3 separate regions of the Homo sapiens genome follow, and regions 1 and 3 are each linked to region 2. Evidence: promoter capture Hi-C in human tissues and cell types (Jung and others, 2019). All regions are on one chromosome and are shown on one strand. Each heading gives the region's core, a stretch centred on a gene start or on the middle of the fragment in contact. The rest is flanking DNA. Distances are from core to core; before and after follow the strand shown. Region 1 overlaps ENTPD1-AS1 (ENTPD1 antisense RNA 1). Region 2 holds the start of CCNJ (cyclin J). Region 3 has its middle 9.7 kb from the start of ENTPD1-AS1.

What was found. The method cuts DNA at HindIII sites, captures the fragments that hold promoters and counts their contacts. A contact is called where the count stands out against the background at its distance.
Region 1: a contact is called between a fragment that was not itself captured here and the fragment with the promoter of CCNJ in region 2, in 1 of the 25 tissues and cell types used here (liver).
Region 3: a contact is called between a fragment that was not itself captured here and the fragment with the promoter of CCNJ in region 2, in 1 of the 25 tissues and cell types used here (spleen).

Annotation. Positions count from the first base shown.
Region 1 is chr10:96,080,070-96,083,521 of GRCh38, forward strand. All of the region lies in intron 2 of ENTPD1-AS1 (ENTPD1 antisense RNA 1), which reads right to left. Among named protein-coding and RNA genes, the nearest start is that of ENTPD1-AS1, 8.4 kb to the right of the region's middle. The HindIII fragment of the contact is 4,273 bases long and covers 1-3,430 here.
Region 2 is chr10:96,042,081-96,045,407 of GRCh38, forward strand. CCNJ (cyclin J) reads left to right here and starts at 1,503. Exons shown (of 6, transcript NM_001134375.2): 1 at 1,503-1,639; 2 at 2,273-2,382. The coding sequence starts at 2,314. The region is part of intron 2 of ENTPD1-AS1 (ENTPD1 antisense RNA 1); the gene reads right to left. RefSeq lists silencers at 892-1,086, 1,214-1,783. The HindIII fragment of the contact is 11,661 bases long and covers 1-3,327 here.
Region 3 is chr10:96,098,236-96,101,724 of GRCh38, forward strand. No RefSeq gene overlaps it. Among named protein-coding and RNA genes, the nearest start is that of ENTPD1-AS1, 9.7 kb to the left of the region's middle. The HindIII fragment of the contact is 3,055 bases long and covers 703-3,489 here.

The DNA of each region.
Region 1 (3,452 bases), core at 44-2,543, 38 kb after region 2:
GAAACCCTGTCTCTACTAAAAATACAAAAATCACCTGGGCGTGATGACACATGCCTGTAATCCCAGCTCCTTGGGAGGCTGAGACAGCAGAATCGTTTGAGCCCAGGAGGCGGAGGTTGCAGTGAGCCAAGACTGTGCCATTGCACTCCAGCCTGGGTGACAGAGCGAGACTCCATCTCAAAAAAAAAAAAAACAACTTTCTGCTAAGATAATTCGGAGGCCCTGAAGCAAGATTCTAGAGTGATATGCATGTATTTAACACTGTGTGAGAGGCTTGAAAATGTATGCCAAATTTTCAGTGTTTGTTTGGGAGTATATTTTTCTGAAGAAAGAGTCCAGGTATTGCTTCAGATTCTCAGTCTCCAATACTTAGTATGCTGCCTGGCATGTAATAAATGCTTTATAAATACACAAATAAAAGGATGAGAGAATGAATGAAGGCAAAGCTCTAAAGACATTCAAAAGAATGACCACAGAAGTAAATTATTTAATACTAGGAAACACTGGTGTCAGTGAAGCCCAAGTAAAAGAAGATTTCAAGAAGAAAGTGGATAAACTGTCACACTGGACTGAACAGAGGTCAAGTCAGATAGGGTCTGAGAAATACCCAGTGGATTTAGAAATGAAGTGGTAGTTAGTGACCTTTAAAACTGGTAATTTCAGTTGAGATAAAATGTTGCAGTTGGTTGAAGAATAAACAGGAAGTTCACGGAAATAAACAGTGAGTAAAGACAACTTTTTCATGAACACTTGTCTGTGGACAGAGAGGTATGAAACAGAAGAGAGAGCGGCAAATTGGTGTAGGATGGTTTTATTTTTTTCTTCTAAGACAGAAAAGATGTGAGAATGCCTAAATGCCAGTGGGAAGGAGCCATAGCTAAGTAAACGAGAAAAATCCTAAAGAGTAGGAATGAATGGGAAGAGATCCAGAGGCTTGGACCAGAAGAGGACCACCTTTTCCACTGTGCAAGGAGAAAAGGACAAACAAACAAACAAAAAAAGAACAAAAATGGTTTATCAATGAAGTAAGTTTGAAGGTTTGGTCGCACTAATTTGCTAAAGTTGCCATCTTATGTTTTCTGTTTTCTCTGAGAAAACGGGAGGTAAAATAATCTGCTGAGAATGAAAAAGTAGGAGATCTAGTGAGCACATAGGGAAGGGTCTAAGGTCAGCAGAAGTTTAAAACAGCTCCTGTGGAGAATGGGAAAGAGAAGAATTGCCAGGCAAAGTCATGAACATAAATGTCATGCTATTAGTTTTCACCAATGTGTGATTTTTCTCTAAGAAGTCTTTCGAGCAGAAAGGGGTTTCTAAGAAAAATCCCTGCCACCAGAGGCTGCCTTATCTCTTGTGAGTGAGAATTAAGTTGAGTGACTTAAATTCACGTTCAAAATTGTGGTGGAAATACATTTATGTGAGTATCACATGCAGAAATTATGGTGAATCTGAAAATTATAGGAAGTTATTGGTATTATTTTAAATATCTAGAAAATAAAAGTTTGCCTCTTTAAGGGACTAAGAATGGTGACAGGAAAGTTTTTGTGTACAGGAAAATGAAAACCATTGTCAAGGCCGGCACAATGGCTAACACCTGTAATCCCAGCACTTTGGGAGGCTGAGGCAGGCAGATCACCTGAAAACAGGAGTTCAAGACCAGCCTGGGCAATGTGGTGAAACTCCGTCCCTACTAAAAATACAAAAATTAGCCCAGTGTGGTGGTGCACGCCTGTGGCCCCAGCTACTCAGGAGGCTGAGGCAGGAGAATCGCTTGAACGCAGGAGGCGGAGGTTGCCATGAGCCAAGATCGCGCCATTGCACTCCAGCCTGGGCAACAGAGCCAGACTCTTCTCAAAAACAAACAAACAAACAAACAAAACCATTGTCAAAACAAAGCCCTAAATTAATTACAGTCATCATGCACTACATAACAATGTTTCAGTCAACAATGAACAGTATATACACTGCTGGTCCCGTAAGATTAAAATGGAGCTGCACTATATAGGTGTATTAAAAAACAAAAACAACTGTTATATTGTATTTTTACTGTGCCATTTCCATGTTTAGATATGTTTAGAAATGCAAATATTCACCATTGTGCTACAATTGCCTCCAGTATTTAGTACAGCAACATGCTGCACAGGGTTGTAGCTTAGGAGTAACAGGCTATACCATACAATCTAGGTGTGTAGTAGGCTACACCACCTATGTGTGTGTAAATAAACATGATGGTGAATTCACCTAATGACACATTTCTCAGAACATATCACCACAGTCAAGTGATGCATGACGGTACTTAGAGAGTCCCACAGGTGACCTAATAACTGAAGCAATCAGCTCTCAAAAGCTTTACCCTGTCACTTCAAGTGACAATGTCAGCGTCAACAAATCCAGAACAAAAGGAAGGACATCTAGAGAGAGAAATCCACAGCAAAGACTAGTTAGAGTGGTTTTCTCAAAACAGATAGAGATGGAAGGTAACAAGAGGGTGCATGTTCCCTAGCACATCTCTCCAGGCCAGCTGAGCCAAGCCTCGGAGAGGGCAATGGAGGTCCTCAGCCCATCAGCCATGACATACATATACATGACATAATCACTCAGACTCACCTAAAATTAAAAACAACAAACAAACAAATGGAGGACTCTCTCATGCTTATTCTACCAATTTTAAGTCAGTTCAGTCTCTAATGTTCAGTAGGTCATCAGGCAAAGGTGACATCACACTCAATCCCCAAACTGATACCTATTCTCTTTAGCTTTTCTTCTCCCTCTGTCTACAGACACCCAGAAGCAGCTGGTGACATTGAATACCTAATCACTGTTACTTCCCTCTTTATCTGTTTTCTGGCTTGGCTAGAGGCCTACCAAAAGGGTTAGTTACATAGCCAAGGTTTAAGATGAGTGCTTTCAACACTCTCCACCTAGCCAAACCTACTCTGTCCTGAAAACAGTACAGCAGTCCAAGTGGGGAAGCAGAGAAGACAGCTGTTTTGAAACGCAGGCTAAATAAGTGGTTAAATGCACATTTTCTAAGGGCAAACTTCTAGGGTTTATACCCTACTACAGTAGACAGAAAATTGAGCTTTACTTTCCTCACGCACAAAATGGAGATAACAGCGCCATTGAGAATATTAAAGGAGACAAACCAGGTAAACTCAGAAGAGTGTCTGGAATACAATAAGCACTCAGTTTATGTTAGCTATTATTATAATTTCTGACCTAGGGTTGTGTTTTACTCGGTAGGTCTAACAGAGGGAAAAGGGTGCAAGAGTGTAATGGTTGAAGTGATGGAAGCTGACTGGGAGAGAGAACAGCCAAGGGATTGGAGTTCTTGAAGCTGAAGTACAGATGCACTGGAAGTCATTCAGCTAAAAAGCTAGAAAAATGGGCAAAGAGCAGAAGAGTTTTTTAAGTTTTTAAGGGTGTAGCTGCTGACATAAATAATTATAAGATTC
Region 2 (3,327 bases), core at 253-2,752:
ACAATATTTTCAAAGTAGAAGCGATAAATACAGTCTACTTCTTATACTAATGATTATAGTCTGTGCCCCATTTTTCTGAAAGTGTTCTTAAATAGGCCCTGGACAGTTATTTAGAAGCCAAATTATTATAAAGTTGTTTAATAGTCATGAAATGGAACCCAAGGATGTAGACACTATTTAAATGCCATTAAAAATGGCATGAAGCTTTTAGCCTGATGTGTCTACCTTCACTCTAGAGGACCCTGCAACTGAGAGACAGGCCAGGGCAGCCTTCTCCCTGGACTATGTCGGGTTAGGCCGGGATCTGCCAACTTCAGCTTCTGAGTTTCCCTTTTCTTGCCTTTGGTTCCTGCGGGCCTGCTCTCCTGGGTATAAGCATCGTCTATGGATAGGGTACGGCTCATATACATGTCTGCTGATGATCTTCAAATGAAGATGCCACCCAGAATCACATAAAATGTATTTATCACTTTGTAGTAGTTCTTTATCATCATGTATCTTTTTGGACAAAGGATTCAAAGTAAAAGGGGTGAAGTTTTAAAAATATTTACGTTTTACTATTAAGAGATTGATCTCCAGTCTCAGAAAAGTGGACAGTCTCACTGTCCTAGGGTTACCATCCACCTCTTTTGTGATAATCCACCAAAGAGGTTAAAATACAATTGATTAGGTTTCCTCTAATCACATTTCAGCCCCCATATCACCTCAATTGACGTCGGAGTGTTCTCACAGTTTTGCAGTTTCCTGATTTACGAGCACAGATGGTTAATTACATCCACCATGGGTTTGACAAGCAAGGTTACTAGAAGTAATCTTAAATGTCTTCATTCAAAGCTCTTGGGAATCCCTACAGCAACGAAAATAAGGAGGGGGAAGAGATTAATTAGGTTTCTAGAAGAAAGGTGGAGTTTGAGGTGGAACTTAAAAAAAGAGCATAATTTCACAGGAAAAAAAAAACGCTTCAGGGGCTGCAGAAACAGCTAAAGCACATTTGGAGGGCCTGATGATCCACGGAGCAGCCCCTGGGATGGAAGCGGTTGGTGCAACGTGAAGTAAGGTAAACCGAATCCATGCCGTGAAGACTTTTAAACGCCAAACTGAGGCGTCGGAACTTTGCTCCGCGGGCATCGAGGAGCCATCGAAGGTTCTCAGCAGGTGAGTGGCCTAACTGGATTGGTCACTGCAGTGATCCACCTTACAATTTCTCCGGCGCTCTCTGCCGACCTCAGCCGGCGATCAGGCCGGCTTCGCAGTAGGTGGCGGCTGAGCGCCCCGGCAACCGAAGCGCCAGGCCAGCCCAGGCCACGCCGCGCCGTGCGGGATGCTGACCGTACCCAGGCGGGAGCCGCCGCGCCGCCGCCTGGCGCTGCACCTGGGCCCGGCCCGGCCGCCAATTGGACGGCTCGGGGCGACCCCGCTGTATCGCGAGACGAGATTGGCAGCGGCGGGGCCTCAAGTGCCCCCGCGCTGGCTTTGTATGCGGAGCCGCCTGCCGGTCCTTTAACAATGGGCGGCGCGAGCGTCCAGGCGCTGGGCTCTAGCTGAGGCCGGCGCTTAGCGGCCCACTGTCCGCAGCATGAGCGGGGCCGGCGTCCGCCGCACGACGGCGGGGCTGGGGCTGTGAGGGCCGCGGTTCCGGGTAAGGGAGCCAGCGTGGGGCCGGGCGGCCCGGCAGGCCTGGGGTAGGCGTGGGGCAGCGGACCCTCCCGGGGTGAGGCGCAGAGCCTGGCTGGCCCGGCCTTTTGTTCCCCTTTCTGAGGCCGCGCGGAACGTGCGTTTCTCGGGGCTCCCGGGGAGGAGCAGGCTCCCGACGTCCATGCGGAGACCCGCGGCCAGGCAGACGCTCACCCCCGGGCTTTGCCATGGGAGCGTTTCCCCTCAGCGGGGCTATGAGCGTGTCACCTCTCCCCGCTCCTCAGGGAGGGCGGGAGAACTCCAGCCCCGGACGCAGGGAGCCCCAGCCGGGCCTCCCCCAGCTCTTCCCGAGCTCGCACCTGGCTCCGCGCTTTGGCAACTCAGGGCCCGAGTGGATCCCCTTTTGCCCGACACATAGTCGAGCAGTGAGTCTCAGAGTCCTTCGGCTCTTCCTGCGGGGGCAGACCCGGCTTCGCGTGTGGCGTTGGGGGAAACGACTCGGGTCGGGCTGGGTTGAGGAAGAGTCAAGTGAAGATGAGCAGCCACACCGGGTGGCCTGAGGTCACACCCCCCGGGGAGGGGGCGCAGAGGGTCGCGGGGGAGCCGGCAGTGACCGCGCCTGGGGTGTGTCTTACAGACTCGAGTTGCCGCGTCGGGCTGGGCGCGCCGCCGGGTCCCATGGAGCTGGAGGGGCAGTGGTGGCGAGGACAGCTGGCCGCCGATATTCACCAAGCGCTTCGCTACAAGGTAACTCCGAGGCCCGGCCTGCCTTCTCCTTCTGTGTGTCGCGCCAGTTGTTCTGAATCTCGGCTCTCTAGAAGGTCTAGTCAGGTTCTTTACTCACTATCTTCCGGGCCAGAAAAGGCGAGTTTGCTCATTTGCTCAAGGTTAATTAACTTCTTGGCTCCTTCTCTGGGATGTATCAAAAGAACCTGCAACCTGAATGAGTAGGGAGATGGTAGTTGGGCCAGGGAAGGTGGAAAGGGGCGTTCTGGCTTCCAGGTGGGTCATGAATTTGATCTTGTATTTTAAAAGATATATACACTGAATTTTTGTTGGGCAGAACAGCCCTCTTTGTTCGAGAGTTGCCGTTGCATGCAGCCAGTTTAAGTCGCTTTTGTACATAAATTCCTCAGCCTTTCCGCTAACTTGCCGTGAGACGTGGACAAGTGAAATTTCTGTTTCTTGATTTCCTCATCTGTAAAATGAGGAATAATGAGTGTGCCTTATGATTCTGGCGATTGTGAAACTTAAGTTAGTACCGTACATGTGCTTAGAAACTGCTCTTGGTATATAGTAAGCACTAAGTGATAACTTCTTATCACTTACCCCTCAGGATTTGGGCTGTTCAAAAGCCCTAAAGTGGAGGGAGTTGGCTGCCCCTTCCTGCTGATATCAAAGGCAGAAAGTAGACTTAATAGATATTGGAAAAAAATACTTTTCCAACACAAAGCAAAGTCTGTGTATTGTTGCTATTAAGTAACGGTTTTACTCTGCATGTGGCAAGGCAGATTAATGAGACATTTCTGCCTCTTCGATAACCAAAAGAGAGACCAGATCCAAAATGATCTCTAGCTTAACTCAGTTTCACCTTGGATAAAGAAAGCCATTTGTTAAATGTAGAAAATTGAGAAAGAAGCAAAACAGCTGACTTTCAATAAAAAGGATTCTGACTCTTGGGGTTGAGATCCT
Region 3 (3,489 bases), core at 980-3,479, 57 kb after region 2:
TATAGTTTTATCTACAAATATTTTACATACTGTTTAAACATCTATTCCTAGTATTTCATATTTTAATGATATAATAAATGGCATCATCTTTAAGTTTTTAATTTTTAACTATTTGATTGGAGTGCAACACATTTTTATATGTTGATTTTGTATATCCAGCAACTTTGCTAAACTTTCATATTACTTTTAATCATCTATATATAGGTTCTGTTTAATTTTCTATATCCCAAATTGTGTCATCTGTGAATTCTTCTTTTCTAATCTTTATGGTTTTATTTATTTTTCTTGCTTTATGTACCAGTGAAGACACAAAATATAATGTTGAATAGAAATGGTGTTAATGTCTGCCTGGCATGGTGGCTCACGCCTATAATCCCAGCACTTTGGGAGGCCGAGGCGGGCGGATCCCGAGGTCAGGAGTTTGAGACCAGCCTGGCCAACATAGTGAAACCCCGTCTCTACTAAAAATACAAAAAAAAATTTAGCCAGGTGTGGTGGCACATGCCTGTAGTCCCAGCTACTCGGGAGGCTGAAGCAAGAGAATTGCTTGAATCCTTCTCTTTTCTCTTTCTTTTCTTTTCTTTCTTTTTTTCAGATAGGGTCTTACTTTGTCACCCAGGCTGAAGTGCAGTGGTGCAATTGCTGCAGCCTCAAACTCTCAGACTCAGATGATTCTCCCATCTCAGCTTCCTGAGTAGCTGGGACTACAGGTTGCATCACCACACTCAGCTAATTTTTTTGTATTTTTTGTAGAGATGGGGTTTTGCCATGTTGCCCAGGCTGGCCTCAAACTCCTGGACTCAAGCAATCTGCCCACCTCAGCCTCCCAAAGTGCTGGGGTTATAGGCTTAAGCCATGGTGCCCAGCCAAAAGTTTGGGATTTTTCAATCTGGGCCTGGAAAAGACAGATTAGTCTTTCTCAACTGGTAGAGAAATGAGGGTAGATGAGATCACATGGAAGACTTAGAAACAATAACATTCTTTACTATCAGGACAAAAAATTTTTTGCAGTGAGATAAAGCTGACATGTAAAGAGAAGCTGAGATAGGAGATTGATGGGAAGAAATCTGAAAATTTTTATATCACTGTTTCTGGGATCTCCTGAGACCCAGTGTTACGTGTACCCTTTCAGTAACTGTGTATTCAACCCTTCATTTCATTATGAAGAATATCATACCTTGATATTTTTTCAGTAAATTTATATTTTCAGCCTAGTTTGTTTGCAACCATAAGGAAGTTTCAATGCATACATGATTGTTGCAAAAAAAAATACAAAAAATTATCAAGCAAAAAGCAGGATTTTCTCCTCTCCTTCTACCTTACTGTTCTCATTATAGTATTAACTTCTCACCACAGTGTTCTTAATATCTTTCCGTGTTCTTTCTATGTATATTACACATGTGAAATTATATATTTATAAACTACTTTCATCACTGTTTCACTCAGCGTTATATTGCAGAATTCTGTGTCAAGATACAGAAAATACACTTTTACCTTTTTAGTAGATGTGTTGTATGGTTGTACCCCTATCTGTATAACTAATTTCCTATTGATAGATATTCAAAAGATGTTCCCAATTTAGTGGTATTACAAAACAAAGATATAAAATTCTTTGCTTCTTTGTTAATTCAATAGAAATATATTGCCCATATTACGTGCCAGACAATTTTCTTGGCAAGTAATTTTTCAAGCTTCTGTTGGTAGAAAGGGGAAGAAATAAACAAGAAAACAAATACATGTGAACTAAATAATTTCATCTAGTGATAAGTTCTGTGAAGACAAATAAAACAGGGAGATTTCATACAAAGGGAAAGATGTGGGTGTAGAACTTCTTCAGAAGGGGACCTGGGGAGGTAAGCAGTGGCTCACACCAATGGAGTCCCAGTGCTTGAGGAGCTAAGCGGGGAGGATCACTTGAGTGCAGGAGTTTGAGAACAACCTGGACAACATAGCAAGACTCTGTCTCTCCAAAATTTAAAAATAAAAAAATTAGCTGGGCATGATGGCATGCTCCTCTAGTCCCAGATATTCAGGAGTTCAGGAGGCTGAGGTGGGAGAATTGTTTGAGGCCCGGCCCAGGAGATGGAGACTATAGCGAACCATGATCGTGCCACCCCAGCCTGAGCTACAGAAGGAAACCCTGTCTCTTTAAAAAAAAAAAAAAAAAAACCGGGAGGCGAAGCTTGCAGTGAGCTGAGATCGCGCCACTGCACTCCAGCCTGGGCGACAGAGCGAGACTCCGTCTTAAAAAAAAATAATAATAATAAAAAGAAAAAAAAAAGGAGGAGGATCTGGGTCGTTTCTGCTGCAAGGTGGGTGATATTTGGCCTAAATCCTGAATGATACAAAGAAATGGGCCCTGTGTGATCAAGGCAGACGAACATGGAAAGCAAAGATCCTAAGGCGGTAACAACTTGGCAGTTTGGAGGAAAAGAGAGGTGGCCAGTGTATGTGTTAGACTTCTTGCAATCAGTGGAAACCAATATAACAGTTTAAGCAGGAAGATAATTTATTGAAAGACACTTGGCAGCTCACAGAATCTCCGGGATGGCAAAGAACCATCTTGGATACTGGCCTACCAAGACAAATTCCCAAAAATCACACTGTGGAACTGGTCTAGAGGTGGCCAGTGTATCAGTTAGACTTCTCCTTGCAATCAATGGAAACCAATATAACAGTTTAAGCAGGAAGAGAATTTATTGAAAGATGCTTAGCAACTCACAGAATCTCTGGGATGGCAAAGAACCATCTTGGAGACTGGCCTACCAAGGCAAATTCCCAAAATCACACTGTGGAACTGGTCTAGTGGGAACATCACTACTGTGCTTGCTGGTATATATGCTATTGCTTGCACCAATAATGATACTGCTACTGCTGACTCTTCAATTTCCATGTATCTGCCACCTTACCCTCCACCCTTATTTATGACACTAGTTTCCAATTTAAAGTCTGCAGAAGTGACTCCCTCATGTAGATCCTATATGTGTTTGCACATTTGTACTGGTATTTTTAGACTAAATTCCAGAGGAACAGTTGAGTTTAAGGAGAAGCACATTTACATATTTTTTTAAGACAGGGTCTCACTCTTGTTGCCCAGGCTAGAGTGCAGTGGTACAATCATGGCTCACTAGAGCTTCTACCTCCCAGGCTCAAGTGATCCTCCCACCTCAGCCTCCTGAGTAATTGGAACTACAGGCACGCACCACCGTGCCCCGCTAATTTTTAATTTTTTGTAAAGGCGAGATCTCCCTGTGTTGCCCAGGCTAGTCTTGAACTCCTGGGCTCAAGTGATCCTCCTGACTTAGTCTGCCAAAGTGTTGGGGTTACCCAACACTTGTTATTACTTATTAACTCTAGATTTATGTTTCAGGGTAGGATTGCAGAGCTGCATATATTTGGACTTCATCCTGGCTCTGTGGCAGTAATTATGCATCATTGGGCAAATTAGTCTACTTCTCTGGGCTTCATTTACCTTGTGTATATAATATG